4 separate regions of the Homo sapiens genome follow, and all the other regions are linked to region 4. Evidence: promoter capture Hi-C in 16 types of primary human blood cells and fetal thymus (Javierre and others, 2016). All regions are on one chromosome and are shown on one strand. Each heading gives the region's core, a stretch centred on a gene start or on the middle of the fragment in contact. The rest is flanking DNA. Distances are from core to core; before and after follow the strand shown. Region 1 has its middle 4.8 kb from the start of EXPH5. Region 2 has its middle 21 kb from the start of EXPH5. Region 3 overlaps EXPH5 (exophilin 5). Region 4 holds the start of ACAT1 (acetyl-CoA acetyltransferase 1).

The links. The method cuts DNA at HindIII sites, captures the fragments that hold promoters and counts their contacts. A CHiCAGO score of 5 or more calls a contact.
Region 1: a contact is called between a fragment that was not itself captured here and the fragment with the promoter of ACAT1 in region 4, in 1 of 17 cell types (naive CD4 T cells). The highest score is 5.9, in naive CD4 T cells.
Region 2: a fragment that was not itself captured here is called in contact with the fragment with the promoter of ACAT1 in region 4 in 4 of 17 cell types (total CD4 T cells, megakaryocytes, naive B cells and 1 more); the score reaches 6.6 in total CD4 T cells.
Region 3: a fragment that was not itself captured here is called in contact with the fragment with the promoter of ACAT1 in region 4 in 1 of 17 cell types (total CD4 T cells); the score reaches 5.3 in total CD4 T cells.

The regions. Positions count from the first base shown.
Region 1 is chr11:108,597,235-108,599,934 of GRCh38, forward strand. It overlaps a transcript of EXPH5 not described here. Among named protein-coding and RNA genes, the nearest start is that of EXPH5, 4.8 kb to the left of the region's middle. The HindIII fragment of the contact is 5,941 bases long and covers 1-2,700 here.
Region 2 is chr11:108,613,295-108,615,994 of GRCh38, forward strand. No RefSeq gene overlaps it. Among named protein-coding and RNA genes, the nearest start is that of EXPH5, 21 kb to the left of the region's middle. The HindIII fragment of the contact is 291 bases long and covers 1,301-1,591 here.
Region 3 is chr11:108,561,793-108,564,492 of GRCh38, forward strand. All of the region lies in intron 1 of EXPH5 (exophilin 5), which reads right to left. Among named protein-coding and RNA genes, the nearest start is that of EXPH5, 31 kb to the right of the region's middle. RefSeq lists an enhancer at 1,372-1,481. The HindIII fragment of the contact is 4,444 bases long and covers 1-2,700 here.
Region 4 is chr11:108,120,317-108,123,016 of GRCh38, forward strand. ACAT1 (acetyl-CoA acetyltransferase 1) reads left to right here and starts at 1,251. Exons shown (of 12, transcript NM_000019.4): 1 at 1,251-1,362. The coding sequence starts at 1,291. RefSeq lists silencers at 913-1,451, 1,053-1,462. The HindIII fragment of the contact is 9,706 bases long and covers 1-1,422 here.

The DNA.
Region 1 (2,700 bases), core at 13-2,512, 480 kb after region 4:
TTGGCCAGGCTGGAGTGCAGTGGCTCAATCTCAGCTCACTGCAATCTCCGCCTCCAGGGTTCAAATGATTCTCCTTCCTCAGCCTCCCAATTAGGTGGGATTACAGGCGCACGCCACCGCACCCAGCTAATTTTTGTATTTTTATTAAAGAAGGAGTTTCACTATGTTGGACGGCTGATCTTGAATTCCTGACCTCAGGTGATTTAAATATTAACATAGTTTGCTTTATCATTAGATCAAAGTAATAACACATTATTATCAAAAGTTCTCTGATAAAATTCAAGATTGCTTTTTGTTAGGACTAAACTAAATTGAGCTAAATTTAAAAATACTTGGTAATCCTTTAGAAAGGATTTTTCCTTGATGTGGCAAGGAATGTCTGTCCCAGACAACACCAGTATTATAATTAATGGTGAGTCTGTGAAGTAACAACAAATCAGAGGTACCTGCTATTCCCTGTCTTGTGTAACATTGTTCTGGTAGTTCTAGTTGATACAATAGGGAAGGAAAAAAACAATGTGGTGTAACTCTTAGAAAAGAGAAAATTGATCATAGATGATAATTATCTACTTAGGAAAAAGACCAAAGAAATTTGTTAAAAAAAACCACAAAAACTATTAGAACTAAAGAAGGAGTACGAATTAGTGGCCATGTGTGGCTTCATTCAAAAAATATTTATGGAATGTCTACTATCCATTGGGAAATGTTCTAGGAGCTGTGTAGACAAGATGTTCCTGCGCTCAAAACGTTAGCTTCTAATGCATAGAGGTTAAAAAATAAATAAATAAACAAATCAACATCAATTTAGAGTGTGATAAGTGTTGTGAACCAAGTAAACAGGGTGGAGAATGGGAGGGATGCAGGGAGGGCTCCAGCCAGAGTGGTCAGGCTGGAGACTGACCCGCATGATGAGATGTCATATGAGCTAAAACCTGAAGGATAAGAAGCCAGACATGTGAAGAACTTACGTGTACAAATGTCCTCAAATTGGTTGAATAAAATGTGGGTAGAAAGTAGATGTATGTGCTATTTATAAGTTCTTTTTGAACCTTCATCTTCATCTAAGAAATATTCCACAGAATTCCTTGCCCAGATAATGGGCTTAGTTGTTATGGGCATGTAGTATTTGTTTAACCTGCTGTATGTCAGGCTCTGTGACAGGTGCTGGAAATGCAGAGGCACCAAGGCAAACAGGTCTCTGTCTTCAGGGAGTTTGCACTTCCTTGGAAAGAGACAGATAATACATTAGTAAATAAATAAAAAGATTTACCACGTGTGATAAACGCTATGAAGAAAATTAACAGAGTGATATGGTGGAGAGTAAGTCTGAAGAGGAGGGGATAATCTTACATGGGGTAGTTGGGAAGGGTACCCTGAGGTGACACATAAGCGGTGACCTGAGGGGTGTCAAGGATCCAGCTTTGCTAAGACACAGGAGAAGCGCTTTCCAAGCAGAGGCAAGTGCCAAGATGCTGAGGCAGGAGAGAGATTGGCAGGCTCTGGGCTGATGTCTCTGGACCGTGGTAAATATCCAGAAGAGGGACATAAAAAAGGAGGTTGGAGAAGTAAGTGTGGGCCTGATAACATAAGGGAGCTAGGCCAAGCAAGGGAGTTCAGATTCCATCCTAAGGACGTGGGCTTGGAGTCAGTATCTTTGGTTCAAGCTCTGGCTACACTATTTATTAGCTGTGTGACCTTGGGTAGCCATCTCACCTCCTTCCACCTCATAAGATTGTGCAATTAAATGTGCTAATGTCTGGGAAGTGTGTAGCATATGGTAAGCCCTCCGGAAAAAGAGACGGAGAGAGAGAGAGAGAGAGATCTTCCCAGCTAGGTGGTCAATGGGATTCTGCCCAGTTTCCTCCTCACACCTGGCTGGCTTCTGGGATAATAAAATGAATTTCCAGATGTTACCTCTTCTCTCCCTGCCTCCAAGCTAGAGGAACTCTTTCCTCTGGGCAGAACTCACCTCACATCGTATATGACATAAGGATTAAATGTTTTAAATTGAAAATGTAGCATAATGACACCAAAGTGGTAAAAGAAAAAAAAAAGATATTTGTAATCCTACCATCCTAATTCAAGGACTGTTTCCATATTTTAATATCATTCTAAAGTTCTTTCTCATGTATGCATGTGTATAAAGCTATAGTTATAATCACAATTGTGTATATACATATATACAAATGCATACTCATAACACAGTTGTAATCACAGTGTGCATATTTTGATAAAGGCTTTTAATATTACCATGAAAGACCTCTGTAGATGTCACAACCTAACTGGATTTAAAAAAAGAAACTTCAGTTCTGAAAGTTCTTTGAGAACTTTAAACTGCTTTACAGAAATAAGATTGTTGGTAGTTTTTATGTTACTTCAATAACCAGTTCTGGCATTTTATAGTATTCACTCTTTGAACATTCTTCCTTATAGCAATTCTACCTACTTCCATGTGGTTGCCTTTCTGTTTAGAAGAAGTGCCCTTTCAATAACAATCCTTGTGCAGACATCAAGTAACACCTGGAAAAGAAACCTTTTTGTTTGTTGCTGGGCAGCCTTCTCATCAGTAAAGAAAGCAGGGTAAGTGAGAGCACTGACAATGCTGATGGGATGCAGGCTTTAATAACTACTGTCGACCTGAGAGAAGGAATGCCATGCCTGCTCTCAATAGATTTTGGAAAGTTTTCAGTAACTCACTTC
Region 2 (2,700 bases), core at 196-2,695, 490 kb after region 4:
GGCTGGAGTGCAGTAGTGTGATCTCGGCTCACTGCAACCTCTGCCTCCTAGGTGCAGTCGATTCTAGTGCCTCAGCCTCCCGAGTAGCTGGGATTACAGGTGCATGCCATGACACTTGGCTAATTTTTTGTATTTTTAGTAGAGACGGGGTTTTGCCATGTTGCCCAGGCTGGTGTCGAACTACTGGGCTCAGGCAATCTGCCCACTTCAGCCTCCCAGAGTGCTAGGATTACAGGCATGAGCCACTGTGCCTGGCCTTATGTGGATATTAATGCTGCATTAGGTTTCTCAACATCCCTGCTTCCATTGACAAAGGAGCAATTTCACGCTGTGCTCTGATTAGAAGCACTGGAGATGTCCAACGAGCCTTTAAAGCAGGGGTTCCCAACCTGGGGGCCACACAGCAGCAGGTGAGTTCATATTTTAGAGAAGTCAGAAGTGTTTCTGAGTTTCTATTTCAGAGAAGTCAAGCTATTCATTCTTATATAAGTTATTATCAGATTAAACTTCAAAAACCTTTATACTTCTAGAATGAAAAGTAATTTTAGGTTGGGCATGGTGGCTCACGCCTGTAATCCCAGCCCTTTGGAAGTCTGAGGCAGGAGGATTTGTTGAGCCTGAGAGTTTAAGAACAGCCTGGGCAACACAGGGAGACCCTGTCTCTACAAGAAATTTTTAAAAATTAGCTGGATGTGATGGTGTGTGCCTGTAGTCCCAGCTACTCCCAGCTACTCATGAGGCTGTGGCAGGAGGATGGCTTAAGTCTGGGAGGTCAAGGGTAGGTGACACAGCGAGAGCCTGTCTCAAAACAAAACACAACAAACTTTAAAAAAAAGTGCACAAATAACAAGATTAAGATGATCATACACAGTTTACTTATGTAACTAGTAAAATTTAAGAAGCTGTTATACATTCAGATTTCATTATTGTGTTAATGCTCAGTAAGACATGCCAAATGAATTATTATTGTACTGAACAGGCAGAACATGTATAGCCTACTTGTGCTGATGAGTCATGATTTTTAAGTTTCCGCTTATAATGCGTATCAATCAGTCACTATGTGATGACTAAATTAAAATTGGTAAAAGACCTTATAGCCATTGATAATGGGGGAAGAAATTATGTTTTATGCTCTATTCTTACTCTACCCAGATCATTACCCAATAGTCTAGTCTGGGCCACACTTACAGGGATATATATACAAGTATTGGTTATTTAGTAACTCTCCAGGTCAACAGGTGGCATGAGAAGAAGCTACTTCTGAAAGAAGTATTAAGGATAGTGTCAAGTCAGTTCAAGAAGCTTATGTGAAGGGCCTACCATTAGCCCAGCATGTCAAAGTTGAGAAGTGCATTAATTCATTCACTTATTCATGCATCAACTATATCCTGGACATCTATTGTGTGGAAGACACCTTGTGGGAAGCCAAAATTGCTAAAGATTATTAGCTAGTTGAGAAAACTTAGTTGTGCTGCTGTCTACACAAAAAGGTTGAAAAGGGCTGAAAAAGACAAGTGGCCTATTTCTTTCTTACCAAAGTCCAGGCAAAATGCTTTGCTTATCAACACAGTGCCATATTAATAAGGTTTTAAGCTTTTTTTAAAAAAAAAAAAAACTAAGGCTGGGTGTGGTGGCTCACACCTGTAATCCCAGCACTTTGGGAGGCTGAGGCAGGTGGATCACGAGGTCAGGAGTTGAAGACCAGCCTGGCCAAGACGGTGAAACCCCGTCTCTACTAAAAATACAAAAAATCAGCCAGGCGTGGTGGTGGGCATCTGTAATGCCTGCTACTTGGGAGGCTGACGCAGAGAATTGCTTGAACCCAGGAGGCGGAGGTTGCAGTGAGCCGAGATCACGCCACTGCACTCCAGCCTGGGTGACAGAGTGAGACTTTGTCTCAAAAACAAAACAAAACAAAACAAAACAAAACAAAACAAAACTAAAGTTTTTGGTTTTTTCTGTGATTTGAAGCTCTTTTTTTTCTTTTTATCTTCTTTTTTTTAAATTTAAAAGGTTTTTTCCTTGTTGCTACTATCTAGTCAATTATATTGCTTACGAGATAACAGAATTCATGTTATCTCAAGAGCAACTGTCATGCTGATTGTGTTAGGAGAGGCTTTTCCAAGGGAAAACTTTTTTCTCTCATCCTCACTTCCAATAGCTATTCACAATAATTTAGGGCATGTTATTTGAGTGAATATTTAATTTAGGAATAAATATAACTCCTAATAATGCATACAAAAGATTTATGAAGTGAGAGAAAATACTTATGACATTTCTTCCATGGTCATAAAACTAAAATATATTTGTACATAAAGAGCATTTATTAATTTTTTTTTTTTTTTTTTTGAGACGGAGTCTCACTCTTTCGCCCAGGCTGGAGTGCAGTGGCGCGATCTCCGCTCACTGCAAGCTCCGCCTCCCGGGTTCACGCTATTCTCCTGCCTCAGCCTCCGGAGTAGCTGGGACTACAGGCGCCCGCCACCACACCTGGCTAATTTTTTGTATTTTTAGTGGGGATGGGGTTTCACCGTGTTAGCCAGGATGGTCTCGATTTCCTGACCTTGTGATCCGCCTGCTTTGGCCTCCCAAAGTGCTGGGATTACAGGCGTGAGCCACCGTGCCCGGCCCAAGATTATATAAATTTTAAAAAGCAAATAGCTGGGCACGGCGGCTCACACCGGTAATCCCAGCACTTTT
Region 3 (2,700 bases), core at 184-2,683, 440 kb after region 4:
AGTACCATGAAGAGAAGCCATCAGGCACCAGAGTCTTGAACAGGAGGAAGCTATGGGGCAGAGAGGAAACTTGCAAGAAGAAAATCAGCCCTGGCAATGGAAGTGAGTAGGGAGAAGCAGAACAGAGAAGCTGGACCACAAGCCTGTGGTTACTAGCCTGGTTGATTGATTGGCACCAGAATGCTGCAGTATTCTGATCAACATTCCGGTTCCTGAGGACTGGCCGTGCAGGGTTGAGGCCGTTTCCTGTGTTTCCTTACTTCTCCATTAGATCCTGACAATAAAGTGCCACCCATCCCTTGAGGAAACTGCTCTATGTTCCTTGTCACCTGAAAGAACATAATGAAAACATCCAGCCATAAGCAGCATGTAGGAATTTGTTCACAGAGGAATTCTCCAGCATTGATTGGGACAGGAAATTTCAAATGTCAATAAAACTGACTTTGCTTTGCCATTATACAATTTTTTCTGTGTTTTTTTTTTTTTTTTTTTGTAATTGTGAAAGTAAAATTACATCAGGCCGGGCTGGGTGGCTCACGCCTATAATCGCAGCACTTTGGGAGGTCGAGGTGGTGGATCACTTGAGGTCAGGAGTTTGAGACCAGCCTAGCCAACATGGAGAAACCCGTTCTCTACTAAACAACAACAAAAAAAAAGAATACAAAAATTAGCTGGGTATGCTGGTGCATACCTGTAGTCCCAGCTACTAGAGAGGCTGAGGTGGAAGAATTGCTTGAATCTGGGAGGGAGAGGTTGCAGTGAGCTGAGATCGCACCACTGCACTCCAGACTTGGCAGCAGAGCAAGACGCTGTTTCAAAAAAAGAAAGAAAGAAAGTAAAATTACATTCAATGCAAAAGACTTGGAAATTAAAGAAAAAACTTGAAGGGGCCGGGCATGGTGGCTCACACCTGTAATCCCAACACTTTGGGAGGCCGAGGCAGGAGGATCAAGTGAGCCCAGGAGTTCAAGGCCAGCCTGGGCAACATGGTGAGATCCTGTCTCCATTTAAAACAAACAAACAAACAAAAACTTGAATAAAAGAAATCACTCATAACTCCCACTGTCAGAGATACTGCTGTGTGTGTACATATGTTCATTCATGTGTTTTAAAGCAGTAGTCACAGGACTAGGACTCTGACTCAGTTTTAGCTAAAGCATGAAAGCAAGAGATTCAAGACATCTAAGGGAGTTGTGAGAAGACCAATCAGGAGAACTTGCTTTGTGGGATTTTTAAAAACAAACAAAAGCCAAATCTCTCTAGTTAGGGTTTAAGTCCCCTTACATGCATTGACTTGGAAGAGTGAAGACAGAGGGAGGATCTGTGAGGAGGCTTTCTCTAGAGCCAGGGAGCTTAACTGGTACGACTGGAAGAGCTTAATTTTGTCCCTTGTGGTTTGGAGGAAAGGTAGACTGGTATCTGCCTCCTGCCTGAGAAATTTGAGCTGGAGAAACTGGGGCCTGCCAGTTGCTTTGACTGCAGAATGAAGTGCATAGCTCAGCTGTCAATCAGCCCTCATTTCCAGGGTTTCTCAAGCAACCACAGTATGACTGTGTCCCGTGGAGAAGATGTGGGCCCCAGGAGAGGCTGAGGAGGCATGGGGTTCTCTTAGTTCATGCCTGCTAGAGTCAGCTCCAGGGGTGAATAAACCTGAGTAGAAAGAGGTTGTGGGTGAACCCCTGGATTCCTAGCACAGAGCAGGGGAGAGCACATTATCTGCATGGAAAGAGCTGCTGGGGAACAGTGCCGGGCCACGGGCCATCTCAGCAAACCCCAGACGAGCACACAAGAGAAGAGGCAGATTTAAACATCTGCCCTACCCAGAGAGAGTGATGCCACCTCACAACCATTCTAGTCAAGCAACAGCTTTTCTGCATGTGCCTTCCATCCAAACTTAAACCTGCCTCCCAGCCACCGTCCGGTTCAACCCTGGAACAGTAAAAAACCACCACTGAAGGGGTGGAGAGGCAGAGGTTGATGGGGAAAGGGAAAAGGATCAAATCCTCTTCACTGTCCTAGGCGTCGCTCTGCAGCAAGCGGTGGCTGTGTGAGGGGCTGCTCCTCTGAATAAAGCTGGGATTAATCTAGGACCGTATGTTCTAATTATCTCTGAATTGAGACTGTGTTTGTGTCTTAAAGTGACCAGAAAAGTCAAGGGACTGCCTTTGTTTGTATCCAGTGGCATTTAAAGGGATAGTAGGAGACGGCTGCACACGGTGGCTCATGCCTGTAATCCTAGAACTTTGGGAGGCTGAGGCGGACGGATCACTTGAGGTCAGGAGTTCGAGGTCAGCCTGGCCAACATGGTGAAACCCTGTCTCTACTAAAAATACAAAAAAAAATAAATTAGCTGGGCATGGTGGTGGGCATCTGTAACCCCAGTTATTCAGGAGGCTGAGGCAGGAGAATCGCTTGAACCCAGGAGGCAGAGGTTGCAGTGAGCTGAGATCGCACCACTACACTCCAGCCTGGGTGACAGAACAAGACGGTCTAAAAAAATAAAAAAGAAATAAAAGGATAGTAAGAGACAAAACTAAAGATGTTTTCTTGTTATATTCCATGATTCCTACTTGCTCCACATGTCAGTTATGTATGCCTGCATTTTCAAAAAATGCTCTTACCCTATGCATGCTTTGTGTAGTCTATGTTTCCCACTTAGCATTACATTAAGAATGCTATGCTATGTCAGTATTCCACCAC
Region 4 (2,700 bases), core at 1-2,500:
CAAGACCCCTTCTCTATATAAAATAAAAATTAAAAAAATTAGCATGGTGGAGCATGCCTGTAGTCCTAGCTACGTAGCTACTTGGGAAGCAGAGACAGGAGGATCCCCTAGCTACTTGGGAGGCAGAGACAGGAGGATCCCCTGAGACCAGGAGTTTGAGGCTGCAGTGAGATATGATTGCACCACTGTACTCCAGACTGGGTGACAAGAGCGAGACCCTATCTTAAAAAAAAAAAATACTCCAAAACATAATGGCCTAAAATAACAACCATTTGTTTTCTCTCGTTTCTGTGGACCATGAATTCAGACAGCATGGTGGGTATGGCTTGTCTCTGCTCCATGATGTCTGGGGTCTCAGCTGGAGTGGTTGAAGGTTGGGGACTGGAATCACCTGAGGCCTTTTTACCCATATTTGTATCTGGACTGAGCCTGGAATTTGATTGCTTCAAAATATTTTCACGGCTGGGTGTGATGGCTCACGCCTGTAATCCCAGCACTTTGAGAGGCTGAGTCTGGCCGTCTGCTTGAGCCCAGGAGTCAGCAACCAGCCTAGGCAACATAGGGAGACCTAGTCTCTACAAAAAAAAAAAAATACAACAATTTGCTGGGCGTGGTCGCCTGCGCCTGTAATCCCAGCACTTTGGGAGGCCGAGGAGGGAGGCTCACTTGAGTCCAGGAGTTCAAGACCAGTCTGGCCAACATGGTGAAACCCCGTCTCCACAAAAAATACAAAAATTATCTGGTTGTGGAGGCTTTCGCCTGTAGTCTCAGCTACTGGGATGGCTGGGGAGGGAGGATCGCTTGAGCCCTGATGGTCGAGATTACAGTGAGCTGTGGTCACGTCACTGCACTCCAGCTTGGGTGACAGAGTGAGACCTTGTCTCAAAAAAAAAAAAAAAAATCCTAAAATATTTTCATGAGTTTGTGCTGGGTAGGCCTAAGGGAAACATGCTCAGTAAATCGAAAAATCTCGGATTACACATAAACCACCGGCCCCGGCAGGTTAGACTTGGTGGACACGGGAGCCAGCAGCGTGTCAGGTGCTCGTTGACCCCAGCGCCAGTGTCTCCATCCACGTCCTTCACTCGTCAACCTTTCCTGGCCCAGGCTGCGGTGTCCCAGCGCCAGGCTCCGCCCCGCCCTTGGCTGCCGGCCAATCGCCGCCGACTGAGAGGCGACTATTGGAGGAAGCGGGATGGGCGGTGCCCGCGCCGGGCCGCTAGGGGTGCGGGGTTGGGGAGGAGGCCGCTAGTCTACGCCTGTGGAGCCGATACTCAGCCCTCTGCGACCATGGCTGTGCTGGCGGCACTTCTGCGCAGCGGCGCCCGCAGCCGCAGCCCCCTGCTCCGGAGGCTGGTGCAGGTGAGCGGGGTTCGTCCCCACAGCACTCAGACCCGGGATGCGAGGAGTCCCCGCCTCGGAAGCTTCCAGCCCGCGGCCGTTGCGGCTCCCGCGGCCCGGGCGCGCGGCTTAGGCCCCAGGACAGTCACGCGACGGGTTCTGGTCCAAAAACCGCCTAAGTGCTCCGATAACACCCAGGGACTCGCCTATTTTTACAGCGCGTTTCTACTTCCAAGGTCTCGGCGTAATCATCTTAATGAGCGTTACTGGTGTGTCAAACAAGGGCACGTGTCTGGGCGGGCAGGACCGCCAGGATTGGCGCTGGCCCGGCCTGAGCGGTGGGATCGGGGAGAGTCTCTTTGCAGGCCTGTGCAGCTGCTCCCGAGATTTTCTTTAAAACATATTTGTGTGCGTTATTGTCAGGAGAGGTTCCTTTTCTTTTTTAATACAATAGATAATCATTGGGCATACAAGGGGAGAGGGCACCATGTGATCATAACAGATGTTTTTTGGAGCAGCCTGAAATTTATCAGGGAAAACAAATGACTACTCAGATAATACAATAAATTATACTTGACATATGAGCAAAGCTCACATACTGAGGGCGTTCCAAGGGCTGTCGCTCTTCTGACCGTTGTGTTTAGGGAACACAGCAGGGGCAGAGTCTCAAAGAATTTATTCTCCACATGCGTAAGCAAGGGAGTACGCACCACAGATTGTCAGGCAAAGCCTCAGGAATAGGTAGAGACCTTCAGGGTGTGGTTGGTGAAGCTTGAGTTTTCTAGGTCGATGGGGGCAATAAGCTTGGAGATCCAGTTATGTTGTGAGTATGGACTTGACCCTAGTTAAGTAGGGATTGTTGATATGTTTGTTTTTGTTGCAATGGTAGGTCACTCTAGTTCTTACGTCTGGGCGTAGAATAACATTACTTGCACAAGGGTGCTGGCGGTAGGAGCTTTGCAAGAGATTGTAAAAGAACCAGTCTAGGACTTGACAATTAGGGAGTGAGGGTGCGAAGCCAAGGGAAAAGAAAGAGTCTAAAATTGATCCTGGGTGACTGAGATAATAGAAAAGTCACAAGGCGTAGGTTTCCAGGGAAGATGAGTTTTTAGCCTATTTGTTAGTCTCATGGGATGAGTGAAGAAATCACAAGAAAGTAATTAGGTTATCTTGGGTTTCAGTCAGTATTGACTAGGTGACATAGGTGAACTAGGTACTCTAGAGATGTAAAAAAAAAAAGTTCAGAACCTTCTTAATTTATGGTTTAATTAAGATCTTACAATCAGGTTGGTTGAGGTGGCTTATGCCAGTAATCCCAGCACTTTGGGAGGCCGGGGTGGGTAGATCATTTGAGGTCAA